Linked DNA regions of Homo sapiens: all the other regions are linked to region 4. The links are contacts of gene promoters, found by promoter capture Hi-C in human tissues and cell types (Jung and others, 2019). All regions are on one chromosome and are shown on one strand. The core of a region is centred on a gene start or on the middle of the fragment in contact, and the rest is flanking DNA. Distances in the headings are between cores, read along the strand shown.

Region 1 (2,882 bases), core at 180-2,679, 580 kb after region 4:
TAGCCAATAAAAAACAAAATAAGCCAGGGAAATAAAATGGAAATAAATAAATAACCCTTCAGTACAAATACACACAAGCAACAATAGCAAACAGGGAACTACGATTTCCCCAAAAGGAAAAAGCAAGTTTCCAACGACTGACCTTAGTGAGACAACAATTTATGAACTCTCTGACCAAGAATCCAAAATAGCAGTTTTAAGGAAACTCAGTGATATCCAAGATAATACAGAAAGCAATTCAGAAATTTATTAGAGAAAATTAAGAGATTGAAATAATTTAAAAATCAAACAAAAATTTTATAACTGAGAAATACATTTGCTGACATCAAGAACCTATTAGAGGCTTTCACCAGCAGAATGGACCAAGCAGAAGAAAAAAATTAGTGAGCTTGAAGACCATATATTTATAAACACACATTCAGTGGCAAAAAAAAGGATGAAAATAAATGAAGACCACCTATGAGATATAGAAATTACCCCGAAAGACAAAATCTAAGAATTATTGTTTTTCAAGAGGGAGCTTGGTGACAGCAAGGGTTAGAAACCTTACTCAAAGAAGTAATAGCAGAAAACTTTCCAAAACTTGAGAAAGATGTAAATATTCAGGTACAGAAACATCTGAGAACACCAAACAGATCCAACCCAAATTCTATCCAACACATATAATAATAAAACTCTCAAAAGTCAAGGACAAAGAGAGGATACTAAAAGCAGCAAGGGAAAATAAGCAAATCACATGTAGAGGATCTCCAATTTGTCTGGCAACAAAGTTCTCAACAGAAACTGTACAGTCCAGGAAGGAGTGGAATGACATTTTCAAAGTACTCAAGGAAAAAAACTGCCATTTGAGAATACTGTAACCAGCAAAATTATCCTTCAAAAATGAAGGAGAAATGAAGTCTTTCCCAGAAAAACAAAATTGAGAGAATTTACCACCACTAGACCCATCTTACAAGAAATGCTAAAAAGAGTTCTTCAATCTGAAAGAAAAGAAACCACTAACATGCAAAAAGAAAACTTTTCAAGGTATGAAACCCAATGGTAAACTTAAGTATATGAATAAAGCCAGAATACTCTATTACTGTAACTGTGGTTTGCAATCTGCTTATAACTCTGGTATGAAGCCCAAAAGACAAATCTATCAGAAACAATAATAGCTACAACAACTAAGAGATAGGTAATATAAAAATATGTATATTGAGACAACTCAACATCGAAATGTGGGGGGAGATGGAGTTAAACTGTGCATTTTTTGTTGTTGTTGCTTTTGTTTCTATTCTTTTCTTTGTGATCCAAGTTGTCATCTCTTTAGAATAACTTGTTATATCTATAAGATGTTTTTTGTAAGCTTCGTGGTAACCACAGCACAAAAACCTATAATAGATTCACTAAAAATAAAAAGCAACAAATTAAAACATACTACGAGAGAAAATCACTTAACCACAAAGGAATACAGTAAGAAAGGAAGAGAGGAGTCTCAGAGCAACCAGAAAACAGGCAACAAAATGGCTGTAGTGTGTCCTTACCTATCAAAAACAACACTGAATGTAAATGGTCTCAATTTGCTAATTAAAGATCACAGAATGGCCAAATGAATAAAGAAACAGAAACTTCAAGAAACCCACTTCACCTATAAAAACACACATAAACTAAAAGTGAAGGGGTTTTGAAAATGATATTGCATACAACTGGAAGCCAAAGGAGTAGCTATACTTATATCAGGCAAAACAGATTACAAATCTAAGATTGTAAAAAGAGATAAAGAAGGTCAGTATATAATGATAGAAGAGTCAATTCAGCAAGAGAATATAACAATTATAAATAGCTATGCACCCAACACTGGAGCTCCCAAGTATATAAGGCAAACATAAATAGATCTAAAGGGAGGATAGACTGGAGTACAATAATAGTTGGGGACTTTAACACCCCACTGTTAGTAATAGACAGATAACCTGGACAGAAAATCAACAAAGGAACAGTGGAGTTAAACTACACACGAGATTAAATAGTCCTAAGTGACATTTACAGAATATTTCAACCAACTGCTACAGTCAACATATGTTGCTCAGAGGTTGGGTTATACTCCGAGGTCGCCCCAACCGAAATTTTTAATGCAGGTCTGGTAGTTTAGAGCCTGTGGGTCTATTTGGTCTTATACACATTTTTTTCATCAGCACATGAAACATTCTGAAGAATGTTCTATATCTTAGGCTACAAAATAAGTCTGAATAAAATTTTAAAAAATCATATCAAGTATCTTTTCTAACCACAATAAAATAAAACTAGAAATCAATAACAATAGTAACCTTGAAAAAAATACATAAACATATGGAAATTAAACCACATGCCCTTGAATGCCCAACAGGTTAATGTACAAATCAAAAAGAAAATTAATACATTTCTTGAAACAAATGAAAATGAAAATACAACATATCAAAATCAATCGGATATGGCAAAAGCAGTACTAAGAGGGAAGTTTACAACAATAAATGTCTATATCAAAAAAGTAGAAAGACTTCAAGTAAACAACCTAACAATTTACCTTAAGGAACTAGAAGATTAAGAACAAGACAAACTCAGAATTTGTGGAAAGAAAGAAATAATAAAGATCACAGTAGAAATAAATAGAATTGAGAGTAAAAAAATACAGAGGATCAATGAAACAGAAAGTTACTCTATTAAAAAGATAAACAAAATAAATAAAGCTTTAGCTAGATTAACTGAGAGTAAAGAGAGAAGACCCAAATAAACAAAATCGTATATGACAAAGGAGGCATAACAGCTGAGACCTCAGAGATACAAAGGATCATTAGAGACAATTACAAAAACTGTACATCAATAAATTGGAAAACATAGAGGAAATGGATAAATTCTGGAATACC
Region 2 (3,101 bases), core at 458-2,957, 660 kb after region 4:
AAATATACAATCGTATCATGTGCAAACAGAGACAATTTGACTTCCTCTCTTTCTATGTGAATGCCTTTTGTTTCTTTCTCTTGCCTGATTGCCCTGGCCTGAACTTCCAATACTATGTTGAATAGGAGTGGTGAGAGAGGGCATCCTTTTCTTGTGCCAGTTTTCAAAGGGAATGCTTCCAGCTTTTGCCCATTCAGTGTGATATTGGCTGTGGGTTTGTCGTAAATAGTTTTTATTTTTCGAGATACATTCCATCAATACATAGTTTATTGAGTGTTTTTAGTATGAAGGGGTGTTGAATTTTATCGAAGGCCTTTTCTGCATCTATTGAGATAATCAGGTGGTTTTTGTCATTGGTTCTGTTTGTGTGATAGATTACGTTTGTTGATTTGCATATGCTGAACCAGCCTTGCATCCCAGGGGTGAAGCTGACTTGATCGTGGTCGATAAGCTTTTTAATGTGCTACTGGATTCGGTTTGCCAGTATTTTATTGAGGATTTTTGCATCGATGTTCATCAGGGATATTGACCTGAAATTTTCTTTCTTTGTTGTGTCTCTGTAGGTTGTGGTATCAGGATGATACTGGCCTTATAAAGTGAGTTAGGGAGGAGTCCTTCATTTTCTATTGTTTGGAATAGTTTTAGAAGGAATGGTACCATCTCCTCTTTGTACCTCTGGTAGAATTCAGCTATAAATCCATCTGGTCCTGGGCTTTTTTTTGGTTGGTAGGCTATTAATTAATGCCTCAATTTCAGAACTTGTTATTGGTCTATTCAGGGATTTGACTTCTTCCTGGTTTAGTCTTGGGAGGGTGTATGTGTCCAGGGATTTATCTGTTTCTTCTAAATTTTCTGGTTTATTTGCTTAGAGGTGTTTGTAGTATTCTCTGATGGTAGTTCGTATTTCTGTGGGATCAGCGGTGATATCCCCTTTATCATTTTTTATTATGTCTATTTGATTCTTCTCTCTTTTATTCTTTATTAATCTGGCTAGTGGTCTATCTATTTTGTTAATCTTTTCAAAAACCAACTGCTGGATTCATTGATTTTTTTTAAGGGTTTTTTGTGTCTCTATCTCCTACAGTTTTGCTCTGATCTTATTTATTCTTCTGCTAGCTTTTGAATTTGTTTGCTTTTGCTTCTCTAGTTCTTTTAATTGTGTTTTTAGGGTGTCAATTTTAGATCTTTCCCACTTTCTCCTGTGGGCATTTACTGCTATAAATTTTCCTCTGAACACTGCTTTAGCTGTGTCACAGAGATTCTGGTACATTGTGTCTTTGTTCTCATTGGTTTCAAAGAGCTTTATTTCTGCCTTCATTTCGTTATATACCTAGTAATCAGAGAGATCCTCTGTTACCTAGGTTGTTCAGTTTCCAAGTGGTTGTGCGGTTTTGAGTGAGTTTCTTAATCCTGAGTTCTAATTTGATTGCACTGTGGTCTGTGAGACTGTTTGTTATAATTTCCATTCTTTTCCATTTGCTGAGTAGTGTTTTACTTCCAATTATATGGTCAATTTTAGGATAAGTGCTATGTGGTGCTGAGAAGAACATATATTCTCTTGATTTGGGGTGCAGAGTTCTGAAAATGTCTATTAGGTCCACTTGGTCCAGAATTGAGTTCAAGTCCTGAATATCATTGTTAAATTTCTGTTTCGTTGATCTGTCTAATATTGACAGTGGGATGTTAAAGTCCCTCACTATTATTGTGTGGGAGTCTAAGTCTCTTTGTGCGTTTCTAAGAACTTGCTTTATGAATCTGGGTGCTCCTGTATTGGGTGTATATATATTTAGGATAGTTAGCTCTTCTTCTTGATCCCTTTACCACTATGTAATGCCCTTCTTTATCTTTTTTGATGTTTGTTGGTTTAAAGTCTGTTTTATCAGAGACTAGGATTGCAACCCCTGCTTTTTTTGCTTTCCATTTGCTTGTTAAATTTTCCTCCATCCCTTTATTTTGAGCCTATGTATGTCTTTGCATGTAAGATGGGTCTCCTGAATACAGCACACTGATGGGTCTTGACTCTATCCAATTTGCCAATCTGTGTCTTTTAATTGGGGCATTTAGCCCATTTACATTTAAGGTTAATATTGTCATGTGTGAGTTTGATCCTGTCATTATGATGCTATCTGGTTATTTTGCCCATTAGTTGATGCAGTTTCTTCATAGTGTCGTTGGTCTTTACATTTTGGTATGTTTTTGCAGTGGCTAATACCAGTTTTTCCTTTCCATATTTAGTACTTTCTTCAGGAGTTCTTGTAAGGCAGGCCTGGTGGTGACCAAATCTCTTAGCATTTGCTTGTCTGTAAGGGATTTTATTTCTCCTTTGCTTAGTTTGGCTGGATATGAAATTCTGGGTTGAAAATTCTTTTCTTTAACAACATTGAATATTGGCCCCTACTGTCTTCTGGCTTGTAGGGTTTCTGCAGAGAGATCCTCTGTTAGTCTGATGGGCTTTCCTTTGTGGATAACCTGGGCTTTCTCTCTGGCTGCCCTTAACATTTTTTCCTTCATTTGAACCTTGGTGAATCTGATGGTTATGTGCTTGGTATTGCTCCTCTTGAGGAGCAGCTTTGTGGTGTTCTCTGTATTTCTTGAATTTGAATGTTGGCCTGTCTTGCTGGGCTGGGGAAGTTCTCCTGGATAATATCCTGAAGCGTATTTTCCACCTTGGTTCCATTCTCCCCATCACTTTCAGGTATACCAATCAAACATAAGTTTGGTCTTTTCACATAGTTCCAAATTTCTTGATAGCTTTGTTCATTCCTTTTCATTCTATTTTCTCTAATGTTGTCTTCACCCTTTATTTCCTTAAGTTGATCTTCAATCTCTGATAGCCTTTCTTCCGCTTGACTGATTCCGGCTATTGATACTTGTGTATGCTTCACGAGGTTCTCTTGCTGTGTTTTTCAGTTCCATCAGGTCATTTATGTTCTTCTCTGAGCTGGTTATTCTAGTTAGTTCCTGTAACCTTTTATCAAGGTTCTTAGCTTCCTTGCCTTGGGTTAGAACGTGGTCCTTTAGCTTGGAGGAGTTTGTTATTACGCACCTTCTGAAGCTACTTCTGTCAATTCATCAAACTCATTCTCCTTCCAGTTTTGTTC
Region 3 (2,917 bases), core at 184-2,683, 710 kb after region 4:
GCATTATGTTTGTTTACACATAATATGATATAAAATTATTTCTGCATATATCCTTTTCAAATGTATGTTTGCAGTAGGTGAAACAATATATTACCAGTTAATCACTTCTATACACAGAAATGGAAATTGCAAATCATCTTGCAGCAGAGTTCTCTCATTATAGGAAGATTTACTTGAGTAATTCTTCTTAGTTAAGCAGTTGCTGGGCAAGAAAGTGCCATTGTGCTGGGGGAATCTTTTTTTTTAATTTTATTATTATACTTTAAGGTTTAGGGTACATGTGCACAATGTGCAGGTTTGTTACATATGTATACATGTGCCATGTTGGTGTGCTGCACCCATTAACTCGTCATTTAGGGGAATCTTATAATAGAAACAATTTTGGTCCCTGGCCTCTTGGTTTTCAGAGTTAGTGTTTGGGGAGAAGGATGAAGAAAAGCCACGAAATTGTTTATGAAGGATGGGGTTAAGATTCTAACCTCTTATCTCTGAGATTAGGAGTAAGGGAAACCTACCTGGGTGGACAAAGCTAGTTGGTGCTAAAGGATGCCAGAAGTCCTAGAGAGGCTCTGACTATAAGTTAAATGGCTGGCAACCTCATCTCAGTATAGATTCTGGTGCTTTTATAGGAGATTAGAGCTAGTGTGGCATGTGTCTGAGCCAAGATGTACCTGCAGGTCCTGCCACCCTTTGGAGAAGAATGACTGAAGGTACTAGGAGTCTTGTTTGAGGAACTATGGAGGTGCTGACAGGAAACAGAATGACAAAGGCGTCACTGCACACTACATTCATGTTCCTTGTGCCACAGGGTATTATTGTTCAGTAGCAATCATTCAACGCCAATATGGCAGTGGTCATGAACCGGTGGGATTTTACAGTTCTTTCTCCACTTGGTGTTTAGAAGGACATGGTATATTTTTTCCAAGTAAGCCCAAATATTATCTAATAGGATTCATGGAAATTTTGCTAATAGAAGCCTATGGAAATTTGATGATAAATTGAAAAAGAGTTATTACTATATTTGTATCCCAAGCTTATAAAGTGGGTAACACTACTTGAATATGCATACTACCATGATTTGAAATATTCAACATTATTTAAGCACACTATTGAATACATAATAGTCTTTTGGAATTTTGTATTTTATTAATCAGCAGATACCCTATGGGAATTTGAAAGTTTATCAGTATAAATAAGGGATTCCCATTATCAGAAGGAATTACTGAATTAAGAGGAGTAGCAAGCAAACAACCTTAAACTTCATATGAGTTTTCCATATTGTTTCTACTGCTCAAAACTCTTAATAAACACATTTTTAAAAGGCTGTACCTGATCCAGGGGCATCCTTAAGGAAAGATCTGGGCTGCATTTTGCTTCTGGGGGAAGGGAGAAATTCTATTTGAAACAACCAGTGGGAACTTGTTAGTCTTTAGAGCCCTTAGAAGAAAAGCAAGAGGTGACAGGTAGCCAGATGTATTAGTTTGCTAGGACTGCCATAGCAAAAACACCACAGATTGGGAGGCTTAAACAACATAAATTTATTTTCTTTAAATTCTGGAAGCTAGAAGTTCCAGATCAAGACGTTGGCAGGTTTGGTTTCTCCTGAAGCCTCTTTTCTTCACTTGAAGATGGATCCCTTCTTTCTGTGTCCTCATATGATGGTCCCTTGGTCTGTACGTGTCTCTGTCCTCATTCCTCTTCTTACAGAGATACCAGTCTCCTCTGTAAGGAGGCCCCACCCATATGACCTCCTTTTGCCTTAATTATCTCACTAAAGACCCTATCTCCAAATCTAATCACATTCTGAGGTACTAGGGATTAGGACTTCAACATAAGAATTTTGGGGAGGGACATGACTCAGCCCATATCACCAAGTGAGACTTTTAAGACAGGCCCCCAAGTATGACAACAGCAAGGTTCCAGGATCCATAGTTTTTCCTCCTTGGGACTTGATGCCATGTTCTGAGCTCCCAATAGCCCTCAAGTCTCTGAAATCTCAGCCTTTGCTGTGTTGAGGCAGGGCTGTTCAGCTCCTGTTGGAAGGTGAAGGAAGAAGGAGACATAAGGAAGACACTGGCTCAGGCATACCGACTTGGAACTGGAAACCAGTTTTAATGTGGAAACACTTTTCTATGTCATGATCAGTTTCTTTTAGATTATCAATTTTCTTTTCAGATATGTAATTGGATAAAATGACTTTCTAGAGTTGGCTGATTGTTTGCCACAATAACATTGTATATATGCTTGCTAACTCACAAAAGGTCAAACAACTATTATTGATAACCTAGTCACAGATGGAGTCTGCCTGTACATCCTTTACTTTTCCCTTCGAGGTCGATTATAATGCTTCTTAAATATGTTTTGATTGATTACTTTTTGGCTCACAGACTTTTTGTAAAACATCTTCAGGCTGCCTCAGGCTGTGAGCAATTGTGGAGGATGGTCAAGTTATACAAGAGGGAGAACTGACTCTACATATTTTTTAAAAATTCTGGTAGTCATGACTCTGGTCAACTAGATTGAGCAGAGACAAAATCAACATCAGATTCATGAATTCATGCAAGAATCCTTACAAGAAAAATGATTACACTTTTTCTCTTAACAGAAACAGCTGGTGTCAGTGATATGGATGGCTGAAGTTTTATTTGTATGACAGCGGTTGGTATAATAGCCCTTCTGCTTCTTACATTTAAAATACCCCATAGAGAAGCTTGCTACTGAGAGAATGGCAAGACAGGGGCCTTAAACTCCAGAAGAGGCAGAAATCCTGGGAAAGCTCCTCTTCTTGTATTGAACTAGGGAAGGCTGTTTTTTTTTTTCCACCCCTTAACGGAATCCTCCCATGACTTAACCATTTCGAAGAGGACCTGTAAGATTTTCATAAATATAATTGCTTTTCATTTTTCCTGAAGAAATA
Region 4 (3,151 bases), core at 483-2,982:
AACTACATGGTTAAGTCATGTCACAAAAGCAAGAGGTTTAATGTTATCAAGGCCTTCATTCATTTCAGACACACCATTGTTTAGCTTCCTTCCCAAACCGTGCACAAAAAGAACTGTCAGCCTGCCTTAAGCATGTTCCTTCTTCCATTTAAACAGACATGATTCTTTTGGTTAATCTCTGGCAATGATCGCCATTTCACAACACATTCAGCCCACCCGGAACTGATCAATACCACTACAGACATAAGACTAGACTTTATCCATTTATTAACCACAAGGAAATGTACCATTCAGCAAAATTCTATACATTACAAAAGATTATATTTAAAGGGGGGTGGGGAAGACGGACACAAACACACAAACACACACACACACACCCCACAGAGGTACACAAAGAAGACTACCACCCTTTAATTTTCCTGTGGCAAACGAGATAAAGACATGGCCATGAAACCTGTCAATTCGCCCCCGTTTCCAAGAGTCCCCCGTAATTCTATGCCACAAGCTTGTAACTGAATATTAAATTTTACAATAAATAGATCCAATGAGACTTATTTAAAATGTTTCATCTATTGAACTAACTCTCCTGTTATGTACATCTGCACACCTTTCAGCTAGATGCTGTATTTATTTATAGAATTTCAAATACAAAAGACTAGATAGTTTTTCCAACCACTGGTTGCAACCATAGAACGTCCTCACAAAATCAAAATTTCCAATATAAAATGGCCCGTTTATTCCCCCAACCTTGAGCTAAAACCTATTTTATGAGTGTACTATATTTAACAAAAACAATTTCACATGGGTTGTTCTAAACCGAAAACAATGCTTCAATACAAAGCGTTTAAAATAAGTATTCCGTAGGTAAGCAAAATCTATGCCCCAAAAGAGCACACAAATGGTGGTTGAACGCCAGCACATTACCAATACCAAGCGGCATACCTCTTCTGCACTGGGTTATAGTTAATACTCCAACAACAACTACAACTATTTTTAACACTGCTGGACGCTGAAGTTGAAGAAAACGTGAGGGGAGACCCAGATTAAATTGCTGATAGGATGTATTGTTTCCCACAGCCAAAATTAAGCAGCAACTGGCTTGATCTATGTCGTGATATTCACCGGTGAAGCACTAATTAAACGATGACAAAAAGCAACCCTTGTTTTGGAGGAGCCCACACTAAATACTCCTTTCAGATCTCAACCTTTGCATAAATTGTCACTTGTGGTATTTGCGGCTTAATTGCAACCCAACCAGCGCTGTCATCCAGTGTTATGGCCACAAAACATGACTTTCTCACTTCCACAACAACACAGCACTCACTCTTATCAGCTCGCCGACCCAACTCAAAAAGAGAAAAATGCATGGAGGTTTCCAGATCACAATCAGACCTGGGGGCGGGGGGGGGGGGCGGTGGCAGCCGAGGGGCGCAGGGAGTGGGCAACCTCCCCAGGCTCCACTGGACTCTCCGACTCAACACCAGCCGCGGCCCCCAGCAGCGGCCGCCGCGGCCGCAGGAGCAGCCCCACCGCGCCGCGCTCCCTGCACCTACCTGAAGAACAGGAGATAAGAAAGACGGCAAACGCCAACTTTGCAGCAGCTCCCATTTTCCCGAGGCGCCGGGGAATCCGGAGGAAGTTCTCGCTAGATATCCAGTTCCCTGGGTCTTCCTCGGAGACAAACCTCCTGGTGTAAAATCAACCGTCATAAAACATATTCGGAAGCCCAGACCAAAAAAAAAAAAAAAAAAAAAAAAAAACGCTCACTGGGTTAAAAAAAAAAAAGAAAAAAAAGAGCACAACGATAAAAAATAAAATGCACCACGGGGGAAAAACCGCCACACACACGCACAACACACAAAACCAAACAACGAAAAGCCAACAACAACAAAAGCGGGTTTAAATCACTGTCAAAATCACTGTCAGCTCCGCTCGCCTCTCCCGTCTCTCGGAACAAAACGCCAGGCTGAGGCGACGAAGAGGCGGCGGCGGCAGCGGCGTCCGCTGCCGCCCGGACAGTCTGGGAACTGACTGGGTCCGATGTCCGGACCGACCTTCAACCCAGACACCTAAAGTCCGAGGACCACTGGCGGCCGAGCTCGCGGCGGTGGCGGCGAGGCGGCTGCGGCGCGGGGAAGGGGCGGCGGGCGGCAGCGGCGGCGGCGGTGCAGGCGGCGGCCAAGTTCTGGTCCAGGCTCTGGCTCCAGCTCCGGGCTCCGGGCTCGGCCGCGTTTTCGGTCTCCTGGCCTCCGCCGGGCTCCGCCCCCCAAACTTCCGGTTCCGGCCCGAAGCTGGAAGCCAGGCGCAGCGGAGGAACGCTCGGCGGCAGCGGCGGCGGCGGCGGCGGCGGCAGCGGCGGCCGGGCGCAGCGCGCGTGCCGGGCCGGGAGCGCGAGGAGATTGTCGGGGAAGCGAGGCGGGAGCGGGGGAGGGGTGAGAGAGCGAGGGCGGGGCGGAGTGGAGGGCGAGGAGGCGGGGCGGACGGAGGCTCGATACCGCGAGGCCTCGGCGTCCGGCCTGCTTGGGCTAGAGATACCGCGACAAAGGGGCGCGGGCGCCTCAAAGTCCCTAAGCTGTGGCTGGGCTGTGGCCGGGCGAGTAGATGCGGGCTAGGCCGGGCACGACCCGTTTCCAAATCGCGTCCGACGGGCCTGTCTGGAGCGCCCACCCAAAGGGTCAGGAGAAGCCCAAGAGGAAGAGGACCCCGAGGTGGGGCGAGTGGCCAGGGACTTCTCCAAGGGGCGTCTGCGGCGCCCAGTCTTTCCTCTGGGGGGACGCCTCGTCCGCTCTGATACCGAGGAGTCGGTGGAAGGCGGACGTGGGAGCTGTTTCGCCGCGCCCGCCGAGCTGCCCAGGCGAGCTCGCGACGCGCGAGCTGGTGTGTGCGCCCCCAGACTTAGCACTGCGTCCCACCGCTGCAGCTTCTGCACACGCGTGCTGTCTTGGTGACTAGAAAAGAAAAAGAAAAAACTCACGGAGGAAGGGCTGTCCACCCGCTCAGGATATTCACGCCATTTATCACGATGCGCAACTTGAATCCATTCCCGCCGTTCCTTTTACACACAAAGCATTGTGTTGAAAACTGTTTTGCACGTAATAGGTGCGCAAATACTTGTTTACTGCGCTTTGAAGAAAAAAATGAGGATTTCGAA

What was found. The method cuts DNA at HindIII sites, captures the fragments that hold promoters and counts their contacts. A contact is called where the count stands out against the background at its distance.
Region 1: a contact is called between a fragment that was not itself captured here and the fragment with the promoter of ACVR2A in region 4, in 1 of the 25 tissues and cell types used here (mesenchymal stem cells).
Region 2: a fragment that was not itself captured here is called in contact with the fragment with the promoter of ACVR2A in region 4 in 1 of the 25 tissues and cell types used here (lymphoblastoid cells).
Region 3: a contact is called between a fragment that was not itself captured here and the fragment with the promoter of ACVR2A in region 4, in 1 of the 25 tissues and cell types used here (dorsolateral prefrontal cortex).

Annotation. Positions count from the first base shown.
Region 1 is chr2:147,264,453-147,267,334 of GRCh38, reverse strand. No RefSeq gene overlaps it. Among named protein-coding and RNA genes, the nearest start is that of LINC01911, 430 kb to the right of the region's middle. The HindIII fragment of the contact is 5,441 bases long and covers 1-2,882 here.
Region 2 is chr2:147,183,524-147,186,624 of GRCh38, reverse strand. No RefSeq gene overlaps it. Among named protein-coding and RNA genes, the nearest start is that of LINC01911, 350 kb to the right of the region's middle. The HindIII fragment of the contact is 5,957 bases long and covers 1-3,101 here.
Region 3 is chr2:147,129,735-147,132,651 of GRCh38, reverse strand. No RefSeq gene overlaps it. Among named protein-coding and RNA genes, the nearest start is that of LINC01911, 290 kb to the right of the region's middle. The HindIII fragment of the contact is 4,380 bases long and covers 1-2,917 here.
Region 4 is chr2:147,843,610-147,846,760 of GRCh38, reverse strand. It overlaps ACVR2A (activin A receptor type 2A), which reads right to left and starts at 1,732. Exons shown (of 11, transcript NM_001616.5): 1 at 1,554-1,732. The coding sequence starts at 1,608. RefSeq lists silencers at 1,291-1,370, 2,126-2,235, 2,316-2,505 and an enhancer at 2,632-3,151. The HindIII fragment of the contact is 7,112 bases long and covers 1-3,151 here.